2 separate regions of the Homo sapiens genome follow, and region 1 is linked to region 2. The links are contacts of gene promoters, found by promoter capture Hi-C in blood cells and fetal thymus (Javierre and others, 2016). All regions are on one chromosome and are shown on one strand. Each heading gives the region's core, a stretch centred on a gene start or on the middle of the fragment in contact. The rest is flanking DNA. Distances are from core to core; before and after follow the strand shown.

The links. Contacts are between HindIII fragments. The CHiCAGO score rates a contact against its expected background, and 5 or more counts as called.
Region 1: a fragment that was not itself captured here is called in contact with the fragment with the promoter of RERE in region 2 in 2 of 17 cell types (total B cells and naive B cells); the score reaches 6.3 in total B cells.

The regions. Positions count from the first base shown.
Region 1 is chr1:8,018,117-8,025,655 of GRCh38, forward strand. All of the region lies in intron 1 of ERRFI1 (ERBB receptor feedback inhibitor 1), which reads right to left. Among named protein-coding and RNA genes, the nearest start is that of ERRFI1, 4.4 kb to the right of the region's middle. The HindIII fragment of the contact is 1,222 bases long and covers 1,700-2,921 here.
Region 2 is chr1:8,814,418-8,821,652 of GRCh38, forward strand. It overlaps RERE (arginine-glutamic acid dipeptide repeats), which reads right to left and starts at 3,223. Exons shown (of 23, transcript NM_001042681.2): 1 at 2,743-3,223. RefSeq lists silencers at 2,821-2,880, 3,131-3,430, 3,531-3,760 and an enhancer at 3,173-3,467. The HindIII fragment of the contact is 6,239 bases long and covers 1-5,756 here.

The DNA of each region.
Region 1 (7,539 bases), core at 1,061-3,560, 800 kb before region 2:
ATGGGCCATGTTATGAAACTGTCCGAACTTCCTACTTGCTAGCATGGGAGACGAGGGGGGCAATATAACTGCCATGTTCTCTTCTTTTGGAAAATAACTTCAAACTGTAGACTCAAAAAGGGCAATGTGCTATAGGTTTGGAAGGAAGCTTTTAAAAAAAATGTTTCTCAGATTGTAAACTGAGGGTATGAAACCACCTGAAACTTTCTCTCTCTCTAAAAACCTTCTAGTATTCAGCACAAATGGAAGCGGGGGGCGGGGGGGGGGGGGGCGCGGAGTAAATAAATCCATTTTACCAACCTCAAGCTAAAAAGAAACAAACTCTTCCCAAGTGATGTTTAATGCCAATTTTTCACATTTTATCTGTCTTACAACTCATTAGAGGAAAACAATTGCAAAAATGTACCTATGTGGGGAAATCAGTATCTAAAAAGTACAAGATGGGATTATGTTATGGAATCCAAGAATAGGAAAGCGAATGTGAATCCAGACAGCATGGTTTAGACGGGGACCCAAATAACCTTCAGCATAACTTCTCCAAACTTCATCAACTATTTTTAGCTTTTTTAGTGGGTCTAAAATGCAGTTAAATACCAAATTTCAGATGTGAACCACCTTTTCCTGTTAACTTGATTCTTTTCTAAATTCAACGAAAAAAGAAGCCCTAAAATCATTTGCTTCTTGAGGTTATCCTTTTATTAATCCACTTGTATAGCTTCAACTCATAGACAGCTCCTGAATCAATGACTCCAGCCTGGCTCAAGCTTCAACTTTGCATTTCCTATTGTCTGGTGATTATCTTTCCACTTGGATGGCCCTCTGGCATCTCAAACTCTACAAACCAAACTCCTCCTTTCACTTCATACTCCATTCCCCACTCCCCAAACCAGTTCAGGGTCTAAGAGGATCACACTTCTCAAGGCACCATTTTTAACCTGAGGCCATGTACATTCAATTGCCAAGTTCCACAGACTACTTTTACATGGTTTCTCAAATCTTACCCTTCCATTGACAGGCATCATTCTTCCTGGGGTCTGGCAATATGCAACCTATTCTACAACACTAGTACCAAGTCAATATTCCTTAACAACAGCTCAAGCTAAGATTTGCTGCTGCTCAAAAAACCTTCAAAGGCTCCTAAATAAAACCTCCTCAGCCTGGCAATTTAGGGCCTCCACAATATAAACCTAATCTATATTTTCAAGCGCGCTTCTATTTTCCCCAAATCTCTGTTACAATTCGATTCATCCTTTAAGGTCAGCTCTACCCTGCCTTCTCCATGAAGCCGCTCCCTTTCATGAAACACTGGAGCAGCGGTGCTCTGTTCTTGTGTTATTTTGTGCTGGGCCCCAATTCCCCTTCCACTCTTCAAATCATCTAGGACAGAACTGATGTCTGATTTATGCTTTCCCCCTGTAGATCTTGGCATCATTCATGTCTATTATTTATTAAATGGATACTGAGAAAATATCCATCTCATTTTTAAAAAGTAATGACATGAAAGATTCACATACACTGTGAGTCAGTGAAGAGCTCAGGGGAGAAGCAGATTTATAAAGGATAAAGTTAATGCGTGCTGGAGTGAGGCGACTGCCCAATAATAATGTAACAACCTTAGGATATGTAACAGGAAGGAATTTTTATGAAATTCATTTCCAGAATTCAAAGAAGACAGTTTGTAGACTGAGTAAAAATTATAAGCTTCAGTGGTTAACAGTGTAGCTTTCTAAACTGGTTTCTGTTACAGTATATTTACTTGAAGCAATTGGGGGGGTACTTTCTTAAAACAGTGTTTTGCCTTCTCTTAAAACACTATTCCTTCTAGACTGTGTTTTTGCTGCTGAATTTAAGGTGACTTTCATTTTTCTAAAAAAGTTACACCAAAAGCACACTGCACCTTCTTCATTAAGGTGAAATCATATGCCTTTAGCTTGAGGACAGTCTCTTTGAAACTGCTTAAAAAAAAAAAAAAAAGAAAAATGCAGGCTACCTTAAGGCAGTAACCTAGATATGCTTACCTGGCCACCAGATCTCATTAATAAATCTCAGAAGCCATCCATGGGAGGAGGAGGGGCACATTTTTGTCATACAACTCATCCAGTTCTGCCCAGTGCTTCCTTATTTAAGAGTGTGATGTAATTTCCTCCTTTCAATCTGGTTCTAGAACCTGATTTCTGTTTATTCAGGGTGATAAATGGTCTTTTCAGTTCCATTTAAGAATCACCTACATTAAGTACTTCCATAACCAAGGAAGATAATAAGGTAACTACATTTAAAGGCAAAATTTATAAAAGGAAACTGATTTAGGAATATGACAAACTCCATGATTTTAGATCCTCCCCAAATATACCAATCTCTGCATGTTTATTTTTTAAAATGTCTAAAATAATCACCTGTGAGGAAATTAAAACAAACAAACAAACAAAAAAACACCAATTTTTTTTTTTTTTTTTTGAGACGGAGTCTTACTCTTGTCACCCAGGCTGGAGTGCAATGGTGCACAGCACAATCTCCACCTCCCAGGTTCAAGCGATTGTCCTGCCTCAGCCTCCCGAGTAGCTGGGATTACAGGCATGCACCAACTCGCCAGGCTAATTTTTGTATTTTTAGTAGAGATGGGGTTTCTCCACATTGGTCAGGCTGGTCTCAAACTCCTGACCTCAGGTGATCCTCCTGCCTCGGCCTCCCAAAGTGCTGAGATTACAGGCGTGAGATACCACGCCCGGCCCAGATTTCATTTTAATAGCCTATGATTTAGGTAGGGGTAGGAAAAGAAAGAGGGAGGCAAGTTAAGAAAACTTCCTTAGTTGTACTCTCTACCATGGTAAGCATAAGTAGCCTTTAAATTAAAAACATAGATTACTTTTAAAATAATGCCATGTTTTAATGTAATTAAAATACTCCTGCATGAATTCAAGAAAAGCTTGATGGCTTCAGTAAACATTAAAATATAGTTCAGTGTGGCAAAGATGAACATTTGTGTCTGTGTTTGCAGCTCCATTCCTCAGAGGCTCTTAAACATGTCCAGAACATAATGGACCATTTGTAGGTGGTGAAATAGAGGCAACAGAGAAAATAATTTATCTTCAAACTGTCAAATAAAAAATAAATGACGTAATTTATTCAATAATTCAGAATGCTTTCTAGCTAAGTATTTTAAAAAATGGTAAACTAACAAAAAACCCATTCCCTCAACTACCATAATCCAGTCTTTCAACTCACTTAAGCCTCCCACACAATTTTAGTGTGACAGCAGAAAAGTAGGATAGCAGGAATACATTCTTTTGTCCTTTGTATTTCTCCTACAGAGTAGCACAATCAGTAACTATATATACACACAGAGGGGAGAAAAATATTATTTCTTTTTGACATATAACAATAGATTATTTCTTACTATAAAAGTGAATTCTAATCTAAAGACAACGAGCACAATGGTCTAATGATGGGACGCAAGTCTTTAAAACTTCAAATTTATTTAACAAGCATTTAAGTTACCCGATGGGTAACTCTAGATTGTTACAATTAATATAAAACCATTAATGATAACTAACATTCACTGGACATACAACTGCCAGGCAAGCATGGTTCTAAGTGCTTTATGTGTATGAACTCATTTAATCCTCTCTACAATGCCATAAGGTGGGCTACTATTATTACTCTCACTTACTTGAGGCACAGAGTTAAAGAACTTGCTCAAGGTCAAAACTGGTGAGCAATGGGGCCAGGACTTCAACTAGACAGCCCGGCCTCAGTGTCCAGGCCCTTCACCAACACACCACACTGCCTCTTCCTGTCCCTACGGCTTTTTAAACTGGCGAAGTAGGATCCGACTGACTATACTGCTCAACTTGTAAGGGTAGCACAGATCCTTTTTTATGGATTTACTGGTAATAGTTTTTCTTGGGTAACCTGTAGCCTATGAAAGTTCCTGTTTCACTTCAACTCCCTCAAATTCTCCTATTAAAAGTTATTAATTGTAGATCTGGCCTATGTATCCTCTAAAATGGGTGGGTTAAGGCATCAATTTGACATTCTATTACCACTTCAAACAACTATTTTGAAGCCCTCAGTCTTTAACGATCCACGGATGCCCCACCACAACAGAACTCTTTACAACATGGTTATTTCATATAACACAAGTCTGTTTTTACTCGTAATAAGCGGTTACTACATATACCCAACGGGCCTCCTTTTAACATGCTTTCACAGCATGGATCCCAATGATGGCATTATAATCACACTGTATTGTAAAATCCGGAATTTAACAATAGCATACCTTATATTTGTAAAGCACTCAACAAGTTACAAAGCACCTTCTTACACATTATCTCACTTGATCCCCACAACATCCCTGTAAGAAGAGGCAGGGATTAGAATCTCCATTTTGCAGATGAGGAAACAAAGTGAGGTTAAATATCTTGCTATAAGCAAAAGGGCGATCATGGCTCTTCTGTACTATAATCCAGCATTTTCCCCACACTTTCACTACCTCTCCACTCTATAGTATCTTCATTTTAGGCAACAACCTCATTTCTCCTTGTAACATTCTTGTTTATAAATGGAGAAACTGAAGCAAAAGGCTGTTAAGTTAAATGCTCAAGACCTAAGTGCTAGTCAATAGCAGAGGCAGGAACAGAAACTCAACTCATAGTGCTCATTCAGCTCAAAAATTCTTAGAGGGCAAGGATTAATTCTTTTCACAAATATTTATCAAGTGCTTATTCTGGATTAGACACCATGTGAGGTGAAAAATAGAGATGGCTGCTGCCTGAAGAAGCCTTCCATCTAATGAGGGAGGAAGAGAATAGCCAAGCAAGCAAACAATTTTAGATGGCGATACCTTCCAAGGAAACAAGCAGGGTACAGCAGCAATAGGATAAGGAGGCAGAGGAGCATATATTTACACAGGTGGTTTGGGAAGGCCTCTCTGAGTAGGTGACTTTTAAATGGAAATCTAAAGGCTGAAAAAGAGGCAGCCCTGATAAGAGTCAGAAGACAATTCTACTGAGCGAATAGTTGTTTAAAAAACAATCTGTAACTAGTCCAGTTTCACATCTGGGGTATTGAATAAGAGCTTTTGGATAATGTCTTCCAATCCTTACCTTCCTATTGTTTCCAAGTTGAAAAGGGCTCCATTTCTGTAGCCAAAGCCCCACATTTTTTTGTTTGTTTATTTTTTAAAGACAGAGTCTCACTCTGTCACCAGGCTGTAGTGCAGTCGTGTGATCTTGGCTTACTGCAACCTCTGCCTCCCAGGCTCAAGCAATCCTCCCACCTCAGCCTCCTGAGTAGCTGGGACTACAGACGTGTGCCACCATACCCAGCTAATTTTTGTGTTTTTTTGTAGTGACAGGGTTTCACCATGTTGCCCAGGTTGGTCTCATACTCTTGGGCTCAAGCCATCTGCCCGCCTTGGCCTCCCAAAGTGCTGAGATTACAGGCCTGAGCCACTGAGCCCGGCCAAAAGCCCCACATTTTAAAGACACATTCATTGAGACCTGGAAGAGTGGTCTTTTCGTAATATTGCCCAATTTTATGGTGTGAGGAATTGGACTACAGTATCAACAAAGACTTGAAATCTGAGAATCCTCCCCACCACCTTCTGAAATCTGAACCCCCCTCAGTAACTTTTCCCTATCTTAAAACTAATTGTTAAGGTAGTAACTTACATTTAGGACCCTCAAACTCATTCGCCTCATCTACCTTTACAAAGCACGTGTTTATGCTGTGTGAACAATGCCAGAATACCACAACTGGACTGCGTTTATGTAGCGAGTTCTTTATTAGCTTTTGTATAGCCAGACACCCGCAAAGGATGCTAAATGTATCCAAATGGATCCAGATGATGAGGTACCAATTCAAATTTATTTAGATCAAGAGCAGAGTTGTTTCTCTGGCAGAGGGAGCCTATGCCATTCCAATTCCTGGAGTTACCCCTGACACCTCCTTTCCTTCCTCTGCTCCTTTCTAAAGCAATCTGATGGTATGCAGACAATCAGGTCAGTTTCAAGCATGTTAGATTGTGCCTGTAATTTACGCAAATTGCTTTGAAAAGCCACCATTAGTTTCAGCAGAAAGGAAGTATTATCTAGCTCAACTTTTGAGAAGCAGCAGTCAAGAGGTATTTTCACACAAAAACTCAAGCATAATTAAATCTTATAAAGAGTGACCAGTATATATTGTGAACTGCAAGTAGGAAAACCGATGATTGAAACAACAGTTTTACCCGTCAAAAATATCAATAATTCAGGCATTTCATAACAGCCATAAAAAAATTAAACAGATTTGCTTTCCAACCCTTATCAATGACTGCTCCAATCCTGCTGAGCCTTAAAAGGTAAAACATGCTTTCATGCAATTATTTATCAACATCAACTATGTGCAAGGCTGCATAAGATAGAAGCTATACAAGGCAGAGTGCCTACCCTTAAGGAGTTTACAATCTAATATATCTGTCAGGTTATAAATCGTTAGTCTAAGACCTCTATCACTTATTATCGAGTGTCCCCTGGAACACACAGGTGAAAATAAACTTCTGCTTGAAGCAAAGGGAATGACAAATAGTTTCTGAAGTCCATGCTAAATCCTTTGTTATTTTTCTTCAAACTTGCTAATATCTGGAAAAGAACTTGCTTGATAACATATTGGTAACCAATTATAGCCAGCATGTTAGCAAGAAACCAGCTTCTTTTATTTTGGTCTTTGCAAAATTTGATCATTTGCTGATACCTAGCCTGTCTTTGGTCTCTGTTCAAATAAAATTTCACTTAAAACTGTATATTGTAATTACAGAAATATAAGAAAAGAAATGCAGTTAAAAAAATAGGTACGGTGAACTTGGGATGTTCAGTCTCAACAAATGTGTGTACCCACTGCATTCTTACACATTTATAAAAGGTTGAACATTTGTTCTGGAAGGGAAAAAAAGGGCATTTTAACCTCACCTTTCTTCACCCCTGACAGTTGCCTAGAAACCAGTCTTGCCCTACCTGTGTTGCAGGTGTACCTCAAGTCACCGACACATCTCTTTTAAAGCTACAGTCTCCATTCTGACTTAAGTTTATGACTAACCATCTATTCATATTTTTATCAGGTAAGAGACTGGTTTCTTTCAAGCAATGATGAAATCCTAATAAAGACTTAGCAAGCACTAATACAGCACCATTCACGGTTAAAGAGTCATCTAATTTGTACAGGGCTATGATATACATATAAATACACACACAAAATTCCCAATAAGCATTCACGTCTTGAACACATAATTTTGCAGTCCGATTCCATTCAAAGCCGTACTTAAGACACTCAGAGCAAAGAATCACGTTTCTAGGAGAGAAGGAAGAGTTCAGAACAGCTTAGACGAATTTTTAAATACTGATTTCGGCATTACCATCGTCGCTGTGAGATTAGGCAGAGGGAGCGGGGCTGACCGCCAGAGAACCGGTACCAACCACCGCAAGCAATCGCCGAGCCTCCCACCCCAGCTTTCAAGACAGGATTTACGGGTACACGGTGTGAACAAGACAACGCAACCCCCTTTTT
Region 2 (7,235 bases), core at 1,973-4,472:
ATGATAATTTGTGTACACACTCATTTCACATTTTCTCTGGCTTCCAATTTTAAATTCTTTATCTAATCCATACAATAAGTCACCCTATCAGACTTTATAAGACTACTGAAAACAACACTACTGCAATGCAAGGCCACTACATTTGCAAAATTGCCGATTTTAGTGAGATTTCCCTCCTTCAACTCCTCCTCTACCCCTCTACCTGGTTTAAATCCCAAGAAAAACCTCTGTCCAGTGCTACAATTTTACTTTCCATAGAGTAGGTTTATTTGATTTTTTATTAATGATACTAAAAACTTTTTTAAAAGACTGCTGGTGTATATAGTTTCCAATACTGGGAACAGAAATAAACCCTCTGGTTTAATATTTCAAGAGAAATTATCTCATAAAAGATGAGAAGGTATCATTCAAAGGAGTCCTGGGAAGTCACAAAGTGTAAATACTTCTGGTAACAGAACAAATTAATGTCGAAGCACAACCAGTAACATAATAATGCCTCAATGCAACCGTGCCTGTCAAAGGACATCTGTATTAGCAGCTCGGGGAAGTGGCATTTGCAGAAAGGCACAACAACTGCGCTTAAAAGAAAATCATTAAGCCTCAGCCATTAATCCCCTCCCCCATCCTCTTCGTCTGGATCTTTCCAAACAATTAACCAGTAGAAGGTGCTATTCTGCAACCCACATGTATTCACACCAACCTCCATCCTTGGGCCACAGCTGGGTTTATCCCAGGTGGACTAGCCTATTCCCTGTCCAGTATTCAAAGGAGCCCCCTAAACAGAAAACCAGATCTTTTCTTATAACCCTTATTTACAAAAACAACATTGACAGCTCAATTGCCAGCAAACCTGACCATCAAACCATCACACCACTAAAAACATGCAAACATCATCTTGCTAAATATTAACCTCAATACAACCTTTATAATATTAATCAATAAAATCTATTTCTATCTAGAAAGACTCTGCTCACATTCACTACTAAGACTCAAGTGAACAAATCACTGTCCCCAACAAAATCAGGGTCAATGAGAAATACAAAAGCAATGAGAGCTGAACGTAAGGCCACAACATATAAAGAGGGATTTTATCTTTACATATACAAAAAAGAAAGAGCAGCAGAAACCACGGCTGCAAAAGGAATAAAGGGAGGCAGAGAGAAGAGAAGTCTCTGAACATGTTTTTGAGTGTCCTTTAGTTTCCAATGCACTCTTCTGCCTCACAAGGTTGCAAAAACGGCCAGGCATGAGATGGGTGGAAGAAAGCTGTAACAGAAAAGCACCCTCCCTTCCCCCATCTTCTCTCTTCTCTCCCAAAAAGAGCTGTGTTTGTCTGTGCAAACCTAGTCCCAAATATGGGAGAGAGAGAATGAATGTGTGTATGGAAGAACAATGAGCCCTCAGCTTGGTATTGTGTGTGTGTGTATGTGTGTGTGTGTGTGTGTATATGTGTGTCTGTCTGCCTCTGCCTCTTTTCCCTTCGACCTCAACAACAACAGGGAGAGCTGGAAGCCAGCTTTCCACCCATCCCAGGCCATCAAAATCAAAACTGGTTGATAATTTACAGTAGTATTAACTCAGCAAGCAAATCCATGGAACAAAATATCAACCCAAAGATGATTTTATTATTGTACAGATCCAGCTTCTCTCCCCTCCCCCAACAGACTGAGACTAAAAAGACCAGTGTACACTAGACAAAAAGGTCTCTCTTTAAATGGAAAGCAATTATGAAAACTGTTTCAAATCTTAGATGCATCAATTCCTGCTATATTAAAATGTCTATTTTGTAATTCACCAAGTTCACCCTCTTACTAGTTATCTTTTTTTGCGTTTAAAAATTCGCTGTGAAGAAGGCTATTTCACGATTCATACAAAACTACTTTCTAAATGTACCTTAAAAAAGCAACAGATACTGAAACATTTAAAGCACCCAGTTTCTCAAGGACCCATTTTACTTAAATCAATGTTTGAAGTCTGTAATCCAGAAAAATTGTAAGCAAACCTTGGAAAAGAGACAGAGGAAAATGACAATTCAACAATGAATCATTCTGTTTTCCTTTCAACAACTTCTCAAGCAACCAGTTTCAAAGGAAGCCTGCAACACTTTTCCCCCCTCCTAGCAGACACACATACACACGTGTATGTAAAACTACGAATCTTTCCATCATCTTAAAAATTAGTAATAAATAGAAGCCACCCTCCTTCAGAGAGCAGAACTAAAACAGGATAGTAAGAATTCTATTCTGCTGCAAGTGACTTTGGGTTTCATAATTTTCTAATCACATACAGCTGAGAACTAGAGATTGGGAGCACAAAGAGGAAATCTTCCCCCAATGAGAAAATGATACTTTAATAATAAAGTCCTCCCCCCAGCACCCCGAAATCCACAAACATTCAAGAAATTTACAGTTTCAGTCCTTGACTTCCTTCCCTTCCAGTTTCAGCCAATAATGTAGTCACATGAAATAGTTTAACCTCAAACAAGTAGAACAAGAGCATGAATAAGAGGCCAAGAGAGAGCAGGGGTCAGAAGGCACGCAGGAACGGTCACCTGGCCCGGACAGGACCAAAGAAGTGCCCTGCCCTCGCCCGACTCCCCTCGACTTCGGCTTCGACCCCAGCCTTTTCTTCCTGCCTCCCCCCGGGCGAGTGACTGCTTTCACGGCCGACCCTCTCTGACCACCAGGACGAGGGGCCAAAAAAGAAAGCACACGACCCGGCGCGGGCAAGTTGGACACTTACCTTCCCCTAAAGCGCTACACCATCAATAGTGAGGTGTTCGCGGCCCAGCTCCGGGGAAAGTGGCGGGGATGGGGCGGGAGGCCGCGCGGAGGCTGCGGGGCCGCGGGGCGCAGGGCCGAGAGGGGCGGCCCGCGGGGAGGCGACGCGGAGGGGCTGAGGGGGCTTCCCTGCCGTGACCTTTCCTGCGACTTGAACCTAGGCTCCCTCCTCCTCGGTCGGGCAGATCTTTCAGAAGCAGGAGCCCAGGATCATGTCTGGTTTTGTTTTCCGAGGGCGAGGGGGCTCCCTGAGGATGATGGTGATTTTTTTTTTTTTTTAATCCTCAACTAGGAGAGAAAATGAGGCAGAGACAATGTGGGGAGCGAGAGAGGGGAAAAGGACGGGGGAGGAGGCGGGGACCGAGGCCCAGCGGGGCGAGCGTCTCGGGGTGTGCGGGAGGCTGAGGAGGCTCCGGAGCGCGGAGGGTTGCTCGCGAGCGTCTGTGGGAACAGCGGCACCTCCGCGATGGTGGCGGAGCCGCGGCGGAGCTGCTGCACCGACCCGCCGCCCACTCCCCGCTCGGGCCCGGCCCACCTCGCAGTATCGCGCCCCTCCATTGGTACAGCGCGGTGTGACGCGGCCGGGGGCCCGGCCAATGGGAGGCGGAGGAGGCGGGATCTCTTTTTCCTTTTTTTTTTTTTTTTTTTTTTTTTTTTAATCTTTTTAATAAAATGAGCAGAGAAGAAGGCGGAGAGAGGCCGAGCCTTGACAACGCCGCGGCCCGGGGCTCGAGGGCTCGCGCTGCAGGCGGCGGCCAGAGGCGGTGGGCTGGGCTCCCGCCGCGGGCGCGTCTTTGTGAGAGTGCGAGGCCGGCCCTCCTCCGCCGCCCGCCGCGCTCCAGTACCGCCCCCCGCGCCCCCCGGGCTGGGCCGGGCTGGCGGCGCGGGCAGGTCCCGGGTGGGGTGGGGGGAAGTCCGGTTGATCTTGCTGTTACCCGGGTCTTAATTGGCCTTTTCAGTCATTAGGACGCGGATCCATGTTGCTGCGGGCTACAGAGTGGGTGTAAACCATTCTCATATGGACTCTTTCGAAATTCTGATGAGCGGCTTGTAATATTTTTCAAATAGTGTACATGACAAAAGATGAATTACAGAAAGAAAAATAAAAGTGATAAGTCGCACTGCTTATTTGAAAAGAATAAAAAGTGTCATGAAGGCATAAAGGAGAGACTGTACAGGTACAGAAGGGATTTTAGAAAGAGCAGTGTACAACTCTATAAGGTACGTGTGAAAAAAAATCTAAAAAGAGGAAAAGACCAAACATCACCTCTTTTTCTTTGAAGAATGAAGTATTGTGTCCCACTTCCCGAAAGCCTGATAATCACAGGGTCTATCATGCTGTAAAGGGAGTAGGGGCAGGCCAAATGATCATATTCTAGTTCATATAATTTATGGGATTGAGGGGTTTGGAAATTTCAATTATGATTAGCAGTTTTTGAAATGCACATCATGTTTATTGAGTTCTTTCACAGAGCCTGGCACGAATCCAGGGTGAATCATCAACCTATTGTTGGTTTGTTAATATTCTGTAAATGCTTATTGGTGTCCTTATACCATACACTCTTCCCGAAGGAGTTAAGGTCCGTATAAAATAAGGGGTAGAAAACGTAGCACAAAATAATTCACTCATCTGTTTCAAAAGAAGTGATAATTTTCTCCTTGGAAAATCTATTCAGATTATAATTTCCACATTGAATTATTCATTTTTTTTTTTTTTCTGAGAGGGAGTTTCACTCTTGTTGCCCAGGCTGGAGTGCAATGGCGCGATCTCGGCTCACCGCCACCTCCGCCTCCTCAGTTCAAGCGATTCTCCTGCCTCAGCTTCCCGAGTAGCTGAGATTACAGGCATGCGCCACCACACCCAGCTAATTTTGTATTTTTAGTAGAGATGGGGTTTCTCCATGTTGGTCAGGCTGGTCTCGAACTCCTGACCTCAGGTGATCCGCCCGCCTCAGCCTCCCAAAGTGCTGGAATTACAGGCGTGAGCCACCGCACCCGGCCCACATTCAATTATTCTTTAAAGAATAATTTGGACTAACAGATACTATTGGACCATGACCCAAGAGATCTTAAAAAAAAAAAAAAAAGCCATAGATCCTTGCCATCACATTTCTGAGTAACTTTCAGCAAGAAAAATCCTCTTTGCTGGAGTTATGAAATGGGGAAACTAGTTAATATCTCTTTATATATCTGATAATGTGAGAACTGAATTTTAAAACCTAATAAATTCAATAAACTGCTTCCAACATTCTAGATATGGATAGGACTATCTGACTTCCTGTTTGGAAATGATGAGGGATAAAGTATATCAGTTAGATGGCTTCACTTTCCATCAAAATCTCTATCTACAGGAGCATTCTTTCTTTTTTTTCTTTTTTTTTTTTTTGAGACAGAGTCTCGCTCTGTTGCCCAGGCTGGAGTGCAGTGGCACGATCTCAGCTCACTGCAACCTCCACCTCCTCGGTTGAAGCGATTCTCCTGCCTCAGCCTCCTGAGTAGCTGAAATTACAGGTGTGTGCCGCCACACCCAACTAACTTTTGTAATTTTAGTAGAGATGGAGGTTCACTATGTTGCCCAGGCTGGTCTCGAAACTTACAGGAGCATTATTTCTAATAAAGATTCAGCTCTGTGGTAGACAAATGGACAATGCACTGCCATCCAGCAGGGAGGAGAGAGGCTCTCCACGTTAGGAAATAACATTTACTATGGTATTAGGGATTGGCCGTCACTTTCATTTATCCATAAAAATGTAAATTTAGAAGTCCAGAAATGCCACATAGTTACAAAGCATAATATATGGTATCAGACCACAAAATTAGCAAACTAAACCCATTTAACTGTAACAGTCCCACGAAAGAATTGTGGTCCAGCCATAAAGCCGGAGAGTACTGGACCTCCTTCCAAGGATCTGAGAAGCTGATAATGCAGTAAAATAATCTTCATCGTTAAGAACAACTATTAAACTATTGATTGAAAGCTTATGTTCCCAGTGCCCTAAGAAACATGTTACATTCTTTAGCCCACTTTTTCTCCCCATGAAGTGTATTATTATTATCTCTTTTTTTTTTTTTTTTTTTTTTTGAGACAGTTTCGATCTTGTTGCCCAGGCTGGAGTGCAATGGCGCGATCTCAGATCACCGCAACCTCTGACCCCCGGGTTTAAGCGATTTTCCTGCCTCAGCCTCCTGAGCAGCTGGGATTACAGGCATGTGCCACCATGCCCAGCTAATTTTGTATTTTTAGTAGAGACAGGGTTTTTCCATGTTGGTCAGGCTGGTCTCGAACTCCCAACCTCAGATGATCCGCCCGCCTCAGCCTCCCAAAATGCTGGGATTACAGGCGTGAGCCACTGCTCCCGGCTTATTATCTCCATTTTAAAAGTCAAGGAACTGGGGCTTACGGAAGTTAAAGAACTAGCTGAAGATTAAAGACGTAAAATACCGACTTGGATTTTTTTCCCATATTAAATTTTTAAAAGTTTCCTTATTCTCTTTTCAGCAATATTTTTAAGTGGGAATTAAGTAAATAAAGTAGTTATTGAATCTGAAAATATCAAGGACTTTTTTTAGTTATTTTATGTATCTTACTACAGGTAAGAAGTGATTTTTTTTTAAATATACAGAGATCACATCAGAGCTGTATTAAAGGAAGATGGAAAATGGGGATTATTTAATAAATGATATTGGGACAACAAGATAGCTATATGGGGAAACAAAAAACAACAACACACACCCACTAGATTCATATTACTCCTAACACACCCCACCCCCAAAATCACAGGTGGATTTCTTTATTTTTTTAATTGAAATTTTTTTTTTTTGGAGCCCAGGAATTTGAGACTACTCTGAGCAACATAATGAGACCCCCATCTCTACAAAAAAATTTTAAAAATTAGCTGAGTGTGATGGCACATGCCTGTAGTCCAGGCTATTTGGGAAGCTGAGGTGGGAGGATGGCTTCAGCCTGGGAGGTTGAGGCTGCAGTGAGCTGTGATCATGCCACTGCATTCCAACCTGGTGACAAGAGTGAGACCCTGTCTCAAAGGAAAAAAAAAAAGGAAGTTAGCCCTTGCTTATACGTGTTGAAAATGTTTCTCCCCAGTCTGCCTGTTTCTTGCATTGCTATGGTGTTTTTATGCCTTATAGGGATGTGAAATATTTATGCAGTAAAATTTATTGGTGTTTTTTCCTTTATGGCGTCTGGATTTCCTGCCATGTTAGAAAGAGCTTCTTCAATCCATGATTTGAAAAAGTTTTAGTGTTCTTCTAATACTTTTGATTTCATTTTTTAAAATCATAAAAATTTGGCATAGACAAAAGAATATACATTATGTGTACATAGGTTGAGGGGGATAATAATAAAATAAACACCAGTAAACTCAACCTAAGAAATTGTGGTTTAGTGGTTTCACTTTTTTAATCATTTATTTTAATTTTTTTTAGAGACAAGGACTT